Linked DNA regions of Homo sapiens: region 1 is linked to region 2. Evidence: promoter capture Hi-C in human tissues and cell types (Jung and others, 2019). All regions are on one chromosome and are shown on one strand. Each heading gives the region's core, a stretch centred on a gene start or on the middle of the fragment in contact. The rest is flanking DNA. Distances are from core to core; before and after follow the strand shown. Region 1 overlaps RBM5 (RNA binding motif protein 5). Region 2 holds the start of DAG1 (dystroglycan 1).

Region 1 (2,732 bases), core at 80-2,579, 630 kb before region 2:
CAAGCCGAGGAAAGGGTTCAGTTAATTTGAAAACTCTACAGCAAGCCACTGGTGAAGCTCTTCCTTGTATCAACAGAGCACTATACATCCCATCCTACATACACAAACACAAGGTAAACTAACCACTGTCTAGTCCCCTACTGGACAGGGGACACAGTTTGAGCACTCTCAAAATATCAATGTCAACATTCAAGTTCAAAATGGTAAACCTTATATAACTTTAGCAGGGTTCTCAACTATTTTGGTTAATACAGTTAAGAGACTACGCCAAAAACTGAGAGCTCTAGAATTCAATAAACAGTAACATGAAACACACCTAAAATCTTAATCACTGGGCTTAGAACCTGCATCCTTTTTGTTGTCCTTTTTTGTTTTTTGAGACAGAGTCTCACTCTGTCACCCAGGCTAGAGTGCAGTGGCGCGATCTTGGCTCATTGCAACCTCTGCCTCCCGTGTTCAAGAGATTTTCCTGCCTCAACCTCCGAGTAGCTGGGATTACAGGCGCGCACCGTGATGCCCAGCTAATTTTTGTATTTTTAGTAGAGACGGGGTTTTGCCATGTTGGCCAGGCTGGTCTCTAACCCCTGGCCTCAAGCTATCTACCCGCCTTGGCCTCCCAAAGTGCTGGGATTACAGGCGTGAGCCACCATGCCCAGCAGAACGTGCATCTTAATAAACGAAACCTCTAGTTCTATCATCTAATACCAGTGTAGGAGGACCCAAGGAAAGTAACAAACCATGAATATTACTGATGATTGAGTAACAATTTCCTTGTTTGGACAGTCAAATAAACAAACAGAAAAAAACAGCAATATCCTAAAGGAGTTTTGTCTATTTGGGAAGAACATATGCTTACCTTGTTACAAAGCCAATCTTCAAACTTAGGTCTGGGATTGCTATAATGCATTGCAATGTGCTTTCCTTGAATCACCAACTTTTTCTGTAAGAAAAGAAGTAATTAGTTATTCCCATTGTGAGGAACATGTGTCCATTTTCCCAGGGCAGAGCACACTTCGGAAAAATCAGTGCTCTGGAATTAAATGGACAACATACGGGGAGGACCAACCACCGCCACCTATACTCTGCCCATCCAATCCTTCAGATAGGCAGTAAGAGAATGGGATGCGGAGTAAAGGTAAACGGAGTCAGGGAGTGCTGAGAAAGCTGTCAAACACTAAACGCTGACTTGCACCAGGCCGTGTCTCCAGCGGAGACAGAAGTCCTAACATTCAGCATTGACAGGCTGCCTGAGTGTGACAGTCTACTTCAAAAAGCAGAAGACACAATTCTCTCAGTTCTGAGACTGTCTCTTACTTTTGCCCTTAGCATGGTGTCCTTGGGCTTCGCTTCACCTTTTTCCCCAGTCCCCCATCCTTATGCAAAGTAAAAGCCTTTACATTTCTCCTTCCCCCCACACCTTCTGCTTCAGGATGAGTCCTTTGGGGGGAAAGGGAGGGGAACTCATTTTTAAAGGGAATCTGGTTACAATTCTTTCTCAAGAGGGACTATTCTGAATGCCACCAACTCTAAAACAACTAAATGAGATTTTTTTTTTCCTGTCAACTGCAACCATGTCATGTCCTAGGTGACAGATGTGTTTTTCACTAAAATGGATGGTACTCTCTTCAAGGTGAGTAACCAGGAGGCCAATGAAGTTTCTTCAGGGGGGTAGGAAAAGCTCATAAATGCACACACCACCTCATCCTTCAAGTCAACCATGTGACTACAAGGACTTAGCTTTAAAAAGTCAAAATTCTGAGCTGAATCAATCTAGCCAAGAGTATACCTAGCACCTACCCCTAAAGAGCCTTCATTTAACAGGAGCATCTTTTCTTTTTCTTGGGGGTGGGAGGATCAAGGGTGGGGGTGGTTTGACACTATCAAACAGATTTAAGTAGGTGGTTAGATATCCAGATTTTAAAAAGGAGTCTAACCCCTCTAAACATACATACTGTTGAGCAATTTGGTTCTTGCAAATCCTGGAAGATTTAAGACATGCTGTGAATTTTGTCTCTGCGATATCTAAAGGCAAGACTGCATGTCTGGCCAGGAGAGAAAAAGCTGAAGGGCCATCCACTCACTGTGATATACAGAAGCAAAAATAAAAAAGCTGGGAGATATGTGAATAGATCATCCCACTAGGAGGGATGTGTGCTGGGAGACTCCAAACTACCAGTGAGTCCCTAATCCTACTGGCCTTTTATTTCTGGAGTGAATTTGAACTGTAATGTGTTACACAGTAACATAGCTTTGTATACATTAAAATTGTGGAGACTTTTAAATGTCTTACAGGTTTTAGTTTCTTAGGAGTTTTAAACTCCTAGGTTAGTCATTCTGACATATCCACTGCATCAAACAATGCTATCATGTCAAGAAAGCAGACTCACATGAACCTTGTATATGTTCTGGATTTACTAGGATGGTATCTATGGTATGAAATGAATGAAGCTCTACTTTTAATAAAATCAGGCTGTGATTTCTGGGTTAGGAAAATGAGAGGCTTAAAAACTTTAACAAATCAGTCAGTCAAAGTGATACCCTCATTAGTGAGTCTTGTTATAAATGGCAATATTACCAATCAAAGAATGTAACTTTTATTCATGGATTCATGGATGACTCAAATCACAGAATGCTGCAGAAAAGCAAGATAATGAGTCAAGCAAACTTCCCAGAATGCACTTGGTTAAAGGCATTCAATAATGTGCCTTGGAGTTCTTGCAAAAAATGTTATT
Region 2 (2,864 bases), core at 365-2,864:
CACTATTAATCATGGGTTCCCTGGTCCCCACTGCCCCCTAAACTGAATTCCTTAAGGGCAGAAGCAGACTCTTTTACATGGGTCCCTAGGATCTACCACAGAATTTGGCAGGTAGTGAATCAAAATATTTGTTCAAATGAATAAATGCATTTTGCAAAATCAATTTTTAAGAACAGTGAGGATTTGCACTGTGCCTCTTTTAACAAAAGCACATGTCAGCACAAGCTTTTATATCCCATAGGGTCTTCACATGATGGATCCAACTCCCTACTGAAATCTGATTTCTCCAAAATACAGGACACAGGCCATGAGCTCTTCTTCCTTAGTTCACAGCAAAAAAAACCCACAAAAGTTCAACTAAACTTCTCCATACTCAAACTATGGATTTTTATGCCTCCAAAATGTAGTACGGTTGAATTCTTTTTTAGAACAGGAACATTCCAAAATAATGTCTCTGAACTTAACTAAGCATAGAACCTGATAAAACTGCAATACCCCATCTACACCAGACTTTGCAAAACACCTGAAAGCACATCCAGCTCTTTATCTGGAATTATGTCCTATAAACACCACCTTCCCTTCACGGAGTCTGGCTTCTATGCCAGGAGTCACTTCTACTCGCTTATTTAGGGAAGCAGCAGGCTAGAATCTTAAGTTAGACTCTGCGCTATGAAGGTGCTGTCCCAGGCTCTTGCCTCAACCAGTCAAAACTTCATCGTCACCATTAAAACTAATTCTGAAGCAACTCGATTTACAAAAATAAGAACTTTTCAAGTTATAGAGATTAAAGGATGCATTTTAAGTTACCAGTTGAGTTTGTAGGAAACTAACTTAGAATTTATGGCAAAAAGATTCCAAGCCGAGACGACATTTTCTGTGGAGACACTATCCAAATACACTCGCAGGTGAACCAGGTCTGCCAAATACAAAGTGAAAAGGTAGTAAGTAAACAAGCTTCCAAAGGAGCTCAAGTAAGGATGACGGAACCCACCAAGGCTCTGAGCAGCTCTGACAGAGCAGTGGCGGCAGCGGTGCCCTTCCCTGCCTCTAGCGGGGCTCGACTCCCCACAGTCGGAATCCGGCCCAACTGGGCCACAACCCCTATTGGAAGCCAGGGAGGCGGCCCGCAGGCGGCTCACGACCGCGGCCAAGGCGCAGGCTCCACGTTCCCGGGAGCGCGGGCCGAGCTAAGGCCTGGCCCATCGCCGCGGCGCGCGGCCCGGGCCTTGCAGCCGAACGCTCCGAGCCTTTGCCTGCGGGACCCAGAGCAAAGGGGCGGCTCCGCCCGGGCGGCACCGCCTCCTCACCCACAAGGACGTCCGCGGCCGTGTCCCCGCCCCGGGCCGAACAGCGAGCAGCAGCAGGTGTTCCGCGGAAGGCTCAGCCGGCAGCAGGGATGGGGGCCCAAGCAGCCAGGCACAGCGGATAGGGCGGGCGGTGCACTCACCCAGCGCCGGCGGGAGGACCGCGGCAGGTGTTCGCTCCTCCTGGCCCCAGGACGCCGCCACCGCCGCTCCCCGGGGATTCGGCGCGAAGCTGCCGCCGCCGCCACCGCCAAGCCTAAGAGGCGCGAGCGCCGCGCCGCAGCCTTCGCGCGAGCACGTACCGGGCGGTGAGAGGGCGCTGAGCGCAAGGGCGGGGCGCGCGGCCGGAGCCTAGCAACCGCCTGACACGCGAGTGTTGCAGCCAATCCAGCGGCCAGCTCCGCGCGGCGCCGACTGGCTGTCCGCGCGCCGCCGGCTTCTGCCTGCGTCGGCCGCTCCGCAGCGCGCCGCACCCGCGCGCAAGCCCCGCCCCGGCCAGCACCTCTCTGCTCATTGGCTAGCCACTCCCCCGCCCTAAAAGTCACGCCCCATTATGGAAGCCTCGCCCCCACGGCCAGGGAAGTCCGTCCCGGGACACACCCCGGCGGTCGGTCCCGGTCACTCGGAGCCTTCAGAACCAGTAGTGTGGGGGAGGGGCTCCCCGCCCAACTTCAGGCCTTTGGGCCTCTAAGACTAATCAAGGGACAGTCAGGACTGCGAACTGGCCCAGCAACTGGCCACCCGTCGACTGCGTTCAGCCCTCCTTATTTCCTTCGAATGCAAATCAAGGGGTATTTCTAAGCCATGAGAACAATCAGGAAGCGTTCTCTCAATTGCAAAGGATGAAAGCCTTGCTGCCCGGCCCTTACACGGATGGGAGACTGAGGCCAGGGACAGGAGGAGCGGGAAGCTAGCTCATCTCCTAGAGCCTCGCCCACAGCAGGCTGGGGAGTCGGAAAGCGCCTCAGGCCTAACCCTCGTCCCCTCCCCCTGCCTGGAACACTGGAATCCGACGCCTGCTCTCCTGCCCAAAATAGCTCTAACTCGCAGGCGCTGGTCACTCACTCCTAGTGGCCTGCATTCTTTTGGTGGGGGAAGAAATAAGAGAGGGGGGTTGCTGCCTGGAACATTCAAGGGGAGGGTCCTAAGGTAGCTCTAGCTCTCCCCAGGACTTAACCTGCAGCCCCCCACCCCAAAAGCCCCAGACTTCACAGTTACTGAAACTGACAGTTACCGGATGGGTCTGGGAATGAGACCCGTGGTGGGCTCTGCTTCTCATCCCCACACCATGCGCAGGATGGGTCCATTCCCTCCTTGGCCTGTGGCCAGGCTGGAATTCCAGGCCTGCACTCTTGACAGCAAGCACATTCTGAACACAGAACTGGCTGCCACCAGCCATGGTTTCCTCCCTGGATCCCGGAGAGCTCTGGGGCTCCCTGGCTTTCCCTCCCTCCTCAGGAGCGTCTGGGAGATGCAAGTTGCAGAGATAAGAAAGGAATGCCCCATCTCCCAAAAACATACCTTTTTGCAATTATCTATACTTCAGTGTCTCGGCTCCAA

What was found. The method cuts DNA at HindIII sites, captures the fragments that hold promoters and counts their contacts. A contact is called where the count stands out against the background at its distance.
Region 1: a contact is called between a fragment that was not itself captured here and the fragment with the promoter of DAG1 in region 2, in 2 of the 25 tissues and cell types used here (liver and stomach).

What each region holds. Positions count from the first base shown.
Region 1 is chr3:50,101,291-50,104,022 of GRCh38, reverse strand. It overlaps RBM5 (RNA binding motif protein 5), which reads right to left. Exons shown (of 25, transcript NM_005778.4): 7 at 857-940. Among named protein-coding and RNA genes, the nearest start is that of RBM5-AS1, 1.7 kb to the right of the region's middle. The HindIII fragment of the contact is 9,297 bases long and covers 1-2,732 here.
Region 2 is chr3:49,469,017-49,471,880 of GRCh38, reverse strand. DAG1 (dystroglycan 1) reads right to left here and starts at 1,614. Exons shown (of 3, transcript NM_004393.6): 1 at 1,448-1,614. RefSeq lists a silencer at 1,196-1,935. The HindIII fragment of the contact is 22,031 bases long and covers 591-2,864 here.